2 separate regions of the Homo sapiens genome follow, and region 1 is linked to region 2. The links are contacts of gene promoters, found by promoter capture Hi-C in blood cells and fetal thymus (Javierre and others, 2016). All regions are on one chromosome and are shown on one strand. Each heading gives the region's core, a stretch centred on a gene start or on the middle of the fragment in contact. The rest is flanking DNA. Distances are from core to core; before and after follow the strand shown.

Region 1 (4,324 bases), core at 1,391-3,890, 270 kb before region 2:
CCTAAGGTCAGGAGTTCGAGACCAGCCTGCCCAACATGGCAAAACCCCATCTCTACTAAAAATACAAAAAATTAGCCAGGCGTGGTGGCACGTGCCTGTAATCCCAGCTACTCGAGAGGCTGAGGCGGGAGAATCGCTTGAACCTGGGAGGCAGAGGTTGCAGTGAGCCAAGATCGCACCACTGCACTCCAGCCTGGGCAACAGAGTAAGACTCTCTCAAAAAAAAAAAAAAAAAAAAAAAAAGAAAGAAAGAAAAAGAAAATAATGTTTAGCAAAAGTCAAATACATAAGTACATAGTTTGATTCCATTTAAATGAAGTTTTAAAACAGGCAATACACCTATGGTGATACAAGTTAAAACGGTGGTTACCTTCGAGAGTATCAAGTGGGAAGGGGCATGAAGAAGTCTTCTGAGGTACTGGAAATGGTTCTACATCTTGATCTGGGTGGTAGGTAGTTAAATGATTGTGTGTGTGTATGTGTGTGAGAGAGAAAGAGATGTGTGTGTGAGGGAGACACAGAGAGAGAGAATTAAGTGAGCTACGCTTGAGATCTGTGAACTTTTACTGTAGAAAAGAAAAAAACAATTATTAGCTAAGCACAGTGGCACATGCCTGTAGTCCCAGTTACTTGGGAGGCTGAGGCAGAAAGATTGCTTAAGCCCAAGAGTGCAAGAGCAGCCTGGACAATATAACAAGACTTTATCTCAAAAAAAAAAAAAAAAAAAAAGAAAGGAAGAAAGAAAAGAAGAAAAATATTTAAAAAGACAATATCAATTTAAAAAAGAAAAAAAAATGGTTAATGGTCCCACTGAACACTTCAAGAAAAAAGTATGTTATCCCAGCATTCAAATTAGATAAGTAAAATAATTGCTTCTCTCTCAAATTGATTAAATCTTCCTCTAAACAGATTATTTTGCTTTTCTTTTGCTTAGATTTTTTGCTTTGGATGTGGTATCCAAGTATAATAAAGCAGAAGAGAGAATTTTCTTCCTACTCCCAGATATTAGTTTATGCCATACAGACATCATATATTCTTCAGAAGATTTGCTCTGACCCAATTCAGGATACTTTGTTTTTGGCAAATAATCTGAGTAAAAAATGCCATTCCTCACTCTGTGATTGTGTGTATATTTATACAGTTTTTAATTTCCCTGGGAGTACTCATACCCAGTTTGAAAAGCATGCCTTTAAATAGCCAATCTAGTCACAATGGCTAATTGACAGGAAAAGCTTTCAAGTGCTCAAAGGGATCATTGATCCTTTTATTTCGCGATGAGCAAAGAGATCCTTAGAGCTAATTAAATTATGATCCTAATATTCTTCCCTTTCATTATTAGCAGTATTTGGCCCTGATTTTTTTCCTGGAGCATGTGTACTCAATTAGGGGTGAGGGAAACACATGTTTTATAAAACAAAAGTGGTCATTATTCTCTGCTCCAATAAGAGTGTGTTTTATCTTTTATCATTAAAAGAGGAATCAGTATTTTTACCAGGAGTTTTCAAATACATTTTTCTTTGAAGAAAGTTCTGGTGTGTTTCAATTGTTTTAAACTAAGATTAAGCTCAGGGCAATAATTCAAAACGTTTAAATTATACATAGTGATTAGTTTTAATTTTTAGTGTGGGAAAGTGGTAATTGAAGACAACATTAATTTGGTAATGTTAAAGCATTAAGTGGAGAACAACCTTTCAATTTTCCTCACCCTAGTGTGATTTATTATATTATAGCCCATACTTGCAGTATCTATATTATCTGCTTCAAGGTATTAGATCTTATGATACTAATAATCTTAAAAAGGAGATATTTTTCTTAAGAGAGTACCAGGCACCAGGTGTGGTGGCTCACGTCTATAATCCCAGCACTTTGGGAGGCCAAGGGGGGCAGATCACCTGAGGTTGGGAGTTCGAGACCAGCCTGGCTAACATAGGGAAGCCCCGTCTCTAATAAAAATACAAAAATTAGCTGGGTGTGATGGCACGTGCCTGTAATCCCAGCTACTTGGGAGGCAGAGGCAGGAGAATCACTTGAACCCGGGAGGTGGAGGTTGCAGTGACCCGAGATTGTACCACTGCACTCCAGCCTGGGAGACAGAGTGAGACTCCATCTCAAAAAAAAAAAAAAAGAGACCGGATGCGGTGGCTCACGCCTGTAATCCCAGCACTTTGGGAGGCCAAGGCGGGCGGATCAGGAGGTCAGGAGTTCGAGACCAGCCTGGCCAACATGGTGAAACCCCATCTCTACTAAAAATACAAAAATTAGCCAGGCGTGGTGGCGGGCACCTGTAATCCCAGCTACTCAGGAGGCTGAGGCAGGAGAGTCACTTGAACCCGGGAGGTGGAGGTTGCAGTGAGCCGAGATCGTGCCACTGCACTCCAGCCTGGGTGACAGAGCGAGACTCCATCTCAAAAAAAAAAAAAAAAAAGAAAGAGTACAAGGAGCAGCTTGCAATACCATATGATTTTATTCTCAAAATGGTGTAATGAAAAAAACCCATAGACTCTGGTGTTAGTAGATCTGAAAGGCAGACCTGACTCCATTATGAATGACTTTGTGTGAATTATTCAATCTTTCAGAGCTTATAGTTTCTTCAACTGTAAAATGAGACTATTATAATAATGCCTGCCACACTGAAGAATCTGGATGAAAGGCATCCACACAATATCTTAGAATGTGAACTGGATATAATGCATGACAATATTTTTTTTTAGACAGGGTCTCACTCTGTCACCCAGGCTGGAGTGCAGTGGCATGGTCATGGCTCACTGTAGCCTCAACTTCCCAGGCTCAAGCAATCCTCCCTCGTCAGCCTTCTGAGTAGCTGGGACTATAGGTGTGTGCCACCATACCCTGGTAATTTTTTAATTTTTTGTACAGATGGGGTTTCGCTACGTTGCCTAGGCTAGTTTTGAACTCCTGGGCTCAAGTGATCCTCTCACCTCAGCCCCACAAAGTGTTGGGATTACAGGCAAGAGCCAGTGCACCCAGCTTGATACTATTTTTAAAATTCCAGTACAATTAGGCTGACAAAGGTTTAGGTTTGGGGTTTAAAAATCTAAAAATACTAAATAGTAAAAAATGCAGTATAAAGATTTTAATAATGGTCGTGGTAATCTAAGACTGACAGAACCAGTATTTTAATGGAAAAAAAGGTTACTTTTCAATTCCTAGAAATAAGTATTTCATTACTGAGAGAATAAGTGTATATCTGTTTGGGAAGAAGGGAGTGCACAGAAGGAAGAGATTATAGGTAAGCCTCTATATTCTATTTTTAATTTCTTTATTATTTATTTATTTATTTTTTGAGACGGAGTCTCGCTCTGTCACCCAGGCTGGAGTACAGTGGCGCGATCTCGGCTCACTGCAACCTCTACCTCCCAGGTTCAAGCGATTCTCCTGCCTCAGCCTCCCGAGTAGCTGGGATTACAGGCACACACCACCACGCCTGGCTAATTTTTGTATTTTTAGTAGAGACGGGGTTTCACCATGTTGGCCAGGCTGGTCTGGAACTCCTGACCTCAGGTGATCCGCCCACCTTGGCCTCCCAACATGCTGGAATTACAGGCGTGAGCCACTGTGCCTAGCCTAAGCCTCTATATTCTAATCCACTTGTTGTAGGGCCCTGATATGGGCACCCAAATGTAGCTTTAAAATATAAGGAGAATGACAGACAATAGTATATATGAAATATTCTTATCAAAAGATAAGATCTACTCTAATTAAACCTGTAGGGAAAAAAGGGACAAAGGAGCATGTTAAACAATATCATGAGAATAGAATGAGCAAACTCTAGAATGTGGGAAACTTAGGAAGACACCCAGTTTCTTCAACAAAAAAATTGCAAAAATAAAAAGGAACAAGGAGAACCTATAGATTAAATGAGGCATTAAAGACATATCAACCAAATGTAACCTGGGGACCATTTAAAATACCTGAATCAAACAAATGGTTATAAAAATACTTTGAGACAATCAGGGAAACATAAAATAGACATATATTAAGGCAGTATTGTTAATGTTTTTAGATATAATTATATTAACAAGCTTTTTAAAAGAATTATTGAGACAATATTAGCGAAAATGGAAGAGTAACGGCCCCCCAAATTCAGTCCTCCGTAAAATTTTTTTGAAGCCAAAACTAGTCAGAATCAACATTTTCAGAACTCTGGAAATTAACCAAAGGCTTGCAGCAACCTGGGGAATGTATTTTAAAGAAAAACACCTGAATCTCTGTAAGAAAAGTGAGCTTCACGTCATTTTAATTTGTCCTAGTTCCATCTCCCACTCTCTAGCTCTGCAGTAGCCTTAAAAAATTACAGTCCACA
Region 2 (4,385 bases), core at 1,870-4,369:
GTAATAAGGGCTCTGCCCTCAAGGAGCCCGTGATAATTTAGTTGGGGAATAAAAATTAATATACTTGAAATAATTTTGGTGCTACACTCTGGTATAAACAAAAGAATGCTATAGAAATCCTTGAGAAGGGACAGATCATGTGGTCTGGGAACCTCTGTGAGCTGATGGCTGAATGAGACAGTGCTCATTCAGCCAGAGGAGTTTATGCCCCAGCTACAGTGGCCACAGCTTTTAGAGATGAGTGTGTCTGAGTCTTGCATGGTTTCAAGGAGGAAGTATGGGGGAGGAAGCGTCATCATCATCACCATTTGTCAATCACCATTGTCATCAACAAGTGCCACAATAAACAGTCATTGAGCATCCTTCCCTCACTAACTTTACATTTTTGGGGGGAGGCAGGACAAACACAGAAATAGTTGAAGGACTAGTATGAGAGAGCATGTGCCAGTAGCATGAAGAGAGAAAAATGAGGGTTGGGGAGGTGACAGAAGGCTTCTTGGAGGTGGGAGCACTTCGGCTGACCCTTGAAAGAAAGTTATGGTTTGGACTAATGGAGAAAAGGGTGAAGGGGGTTGTAAATCGCATCAACAAGGCAGAGGTGGGAGTGAGCAACGCAAATAGGAGAAGTGAGAAAACTGGCTGGCCTTGTGGAAGGAGTAGTGTGGGCAATAAAATCTGAGAGGGAAGTAGTGTGATGATTATATAGAGCCTTGAATGACAGACAGAAGGAGTCATTTTGGAACAAAGTAGGAAGGCATTGTAAATTTTTGTATTTGGGGAGAGACAAGGCCATGGAGAAGAAGGAGGAAAGGCTAAAAGGTAAACGTTGGGATTCTACATTCTTCTTCTTAGCTTTACTCTCCCATGTTTTTTTTTTTTTTTATTTTTAATTTTTATTTTTTTGAGATGGAGTTTCACTCTTGTCACCCAGGCTGGAGTGCAATGGTGCTATCTTGGCTCACTGCAACTTCTGCCTCCTGGGTTCAAGGGGTTGTCCTGCCTCAGCCTCCCGAGTAGCTGGGATTACAGGTGCCCACCACCACGCCCAGCTAATTTTTGAATTTTTAGTAGAGACAGGATTTCACCATGTTGGTCAGGCTGGTCTCAAACTCCTGATCTCAGGCCATTCACCCACCTTGGCCTCCCGAAATGCTGGGATTACAGGCATGAGCTACCGCGCCCGGCTGACTCTCTCATGTTTAGGGGGACCAACTCACCCTATCCCAGTGAAATGGGATTAATTGGTCACCTTGCCTGAGATTCACCTTGTGAACAGTTACCTAGAGCAGCCCCAAGAGGTTCTGCACCATATACTGGTGGTGGAGAACCTTGTCCCAGTTGGAATGTCCCAACTAATAAGAAAAAGAACACTCTCTGAAGTTGTTCTCAATAGTGTTGACCTCCTTCATGAAATGGAAAGGAGAAAGGAGCAGCCTCCTAGCCCAGCTGCTAGCATAGGTGCAGACCAAGATGCGGAGTCTGCTTCAGAAGGTGACAACCTTTAGATGTTGAATCTGTCCCTGAATCAGCCCTGGGGAAAGGAGGCAGCAATCATGGAAACCTTAAAAAAACAAAAAACAACATAATGACAGGACAACCTGGAGGCCATTATTTTGGTGGCTGCTACTTGGCCACTCCTCACATAGATTTGTTTTACTGACTTCCTGCAGCAAAAGGAGATTGGCACAGGCTCTGCTACATAATCATCATTATTATTATTATTATTATTATTATTATTATTATTATTAAGACGTAATCTTGCTCTGTTGCCCAGGCTGGAGTGCAGTGGCGTGATCTCAGCTCACTGCAACCTCTGCCGTCCGGGTTCAAGTTTTTCTCCTGCCTCAGCCTCCTGAGTAGCTGGGATTACAGTCACGCACCACCACGACCAGCTGATTTTTGTATTTTTAGTAGAGATGGGGTTTCACCACGTTGGCCAGGCTGGTTTCGAACTCCTGACCTCAAGTGATCTGCCTGCCTCAGCCTCCCAAAGTGCTGGGATTACAGGCGTGAACCACTGTGCCTGGCCTTCATCTATATTATTACCAGGAGGCAGATGTGTTCTCTTTTTCTCTGAGGTTTAGAATTATGCAAATGAAGATATGAAAACAAAAGCTCAGTGAGGTGGGGAGGATTACACTTAAGAATACAGGTAATTTTCAAAGCTCTTTAAGACACCCCTCTCAGTTTTTACTAACAGCTCTCTCTTGGCTCTTTGCCAGTCTGTTTAGAATTTGGCACCTCTTCATAACCTTTCAACCAAAGACCTGTAAGTTCATTCTAAAGCTCCTATCCTGGCCTCATTTTGCAAGTGGAGAAATCAAGGCATAAAATATGAGCTTTCAGTGTCTGTGGGCTGACCTTGAGTCTTGACCTTTATCCTGTTCTATCTTCCCTCCGCCGAAAACTCTGACCCTATTCCTCCCAGGTTCCCCCTTCATGATATTATCTGGAGGGCAATAGGACCTAGGGAGGTTCCACCCTGCGGCGGAGGGAGACACACCTGCCTAACAGCGTGGGTAGAGTGAGTGTTGAAGCAAGTCACTTAACTAGTTAGGGAGGGCGGGGTAGAAGTGGGGGCCTGCTGCTCCTAGGGAGGAGTAAAGCTGTGGCTCCTGCCTGGGTCTGGAGGTGGTGGTCAGAAGTGCTTCTGAAGAGCGGCCCAAGCCCCTTTTTGTCCCGCCACTCCACAACGAGCATCCCTCGGCTGGCCGCCTGCCCGGGAACTCTCCGGCTGGTTTTGTTTGGCCGCAGCCGTCCCGCCCATCTCGCCCGCCCCCGCCGTCCCGGTGCCTTAGTTTTTGAAGCTGCCGACCTCTCGCAGCTGGAATCGCAGACCAGGCAGGACCCTGGCAGCAGACGGCGTCCAAGAGTTTGGCGACCTCCGTCCAGCCAGGTTGGCGCCCCGCACATCGTGCCTCTCACTAGCAAAGTTTCTCCGAGGAGAAGCAGCCCCTCCAGCCTTTTCTTCATCCTGTAGAGCGAGCGCGCTCTGCTTCTGTCCCTCAACACTGCATTCGGAGACAGGGTGGTGACAATACTCCACTCCCGGGCCAGGCGGTCTTGGGGGCGGGGCTTGGGGGAATCCGAGGAGCTATCCTGAGAACCCTGGACTCGGCAAAGGTCCTGAGAGCGCGCAGGTGAGCGGGCCAGCTGATAGCTACAGCCTAGCAATAGCTAGGATACCTAGGCACTGAACTGAATCCCCTCTTCTGCCCTCCTTCTTCTGCGCCCGCTCTTCTGCCCTGGCTCAGCTCTCCGCTGACTTGAGAGGACACACTGGTCAGGACTCTTTGTGAGGAGCTGCTGAGTGTCGGTGCCCCCGACAGATCGGCTACACCCTGCCTGAGGGGCTGCGAAAGGAGCCGCCACGGAAGCCGCTGTTCTCATGACTCTTCACGTCCCTGGAGTTGGACTCTGGATGGGGCGCTGGGATGCTTGCTTTTGTCTTGTTCAAGTTTCACAGCAAGTATGTTGACGATTGGAATCGGGGCCAATCAAGAGTCAAGTTCAAAGTGGTACTCCTGGGCTTTCCATCCCAGACTCCAAGTCGAATCTGAGTCTAGAAGAGAGCGGTTTCTTGCTCTAACTAGTGAATCTCTGTTCCCAAACTGGACTTGACAGAGCTCTCCTCACCTATACTTGGACTGTAGCGGCCATAGGGTTCTCTTGGGGATGGGTGGGAGGGTGCTATGAACACAAGACCACAACATTCAGAAAGAACCTCGACAATGGACAGAGTTTATGAAATTCCTGAGGAGCCAAATGTGGATCCGGTTTCATCTCTGGAGGAAGATGTCATCCGTGGAGCCAACCCCCGATTTACTTTTCCATTTAGCATCCTTTTCTCCACCTTTTTGTACTGTGGGGAGGCTGCATCTGCTTTGTACATGGTTAGAATCTATCGAAAGAATAGTGAAACTTACTGGATGACATACACCTTTTCTTTCTTTATGTTTTCATCCATTATGGTCCAGTTGACCCTCATTTTTGTCCACAGAGATCTAGCCAAAGATAAACCGCTATCATTATTTATGCATCTAATCCTCTTGGGACCTGTTATCAGGTGAGCAACTTTTAAATCTTTTCCTTACCCCCCTAACCCCACCCCAGACTTGGGCAGAGAAAGATGAAAGATTTACAAGATGGATACTATGGCTCTAATCAATTCTCTCATTTCCTCCCACTCTCGGCTTCCCTGTCTACCATTCAGAAAACTTACCTGAAATCTTAAATGCCACCATGATGAACATGTGGTATGTACTTGTGTTCCAAAACAATGAACGATGCTATTTGGCCTGTGTAAACTAGAATGGGAACAACAAGACGTGATCACCCTGTGCATGAAGGCCATAGCTGCAGAGTGTGTAATTTTATTTAAAAAA

Evidence for each region. The method cuts DNA at HindIII sites, captures the fragments that hold promoters and counts their contacts. A CHiCAGO score of 5 or more calls a contact.
Region 1: a contact is called between a fragment that was not itself captured here and the fragment with the promoter of XKRX in region 2, in 7 of 17 cell types (total CD4 T cells, endothelial precursors, total B cells and 4 more). The highest score is 6.0, in total CD4 T cells.

What each region holds. Positions count from the first base shown.
Region 1 is chrX:101,196,069-101,200,392 of GRCh38, reverse strand. No RefSeq gene overlaps it. Among named protein-coding and RNA genes, the nearest start is that of DRP2, 22 kb to the left of the region's middle. The HindIII fragment of the contact is 2,811 bases long and covers 1,235-4,045 here.
Region 2 is chrX:100,927,651-100,932,035 of GRCh38, reverse strand. It overlaps XKRX (XK related X-linked), which reads left to right and starts at 3,119. Exons shown (of 3, transcript NM_212559.3): 1 at 3,119-4,066. The coding sequence starts at 3,732. RefSeq lists enhancers at 2,473-2,522, 3,716-4,385. The HindIII fragment of the contact is 22,335 bases long and covers 1-4,385 here.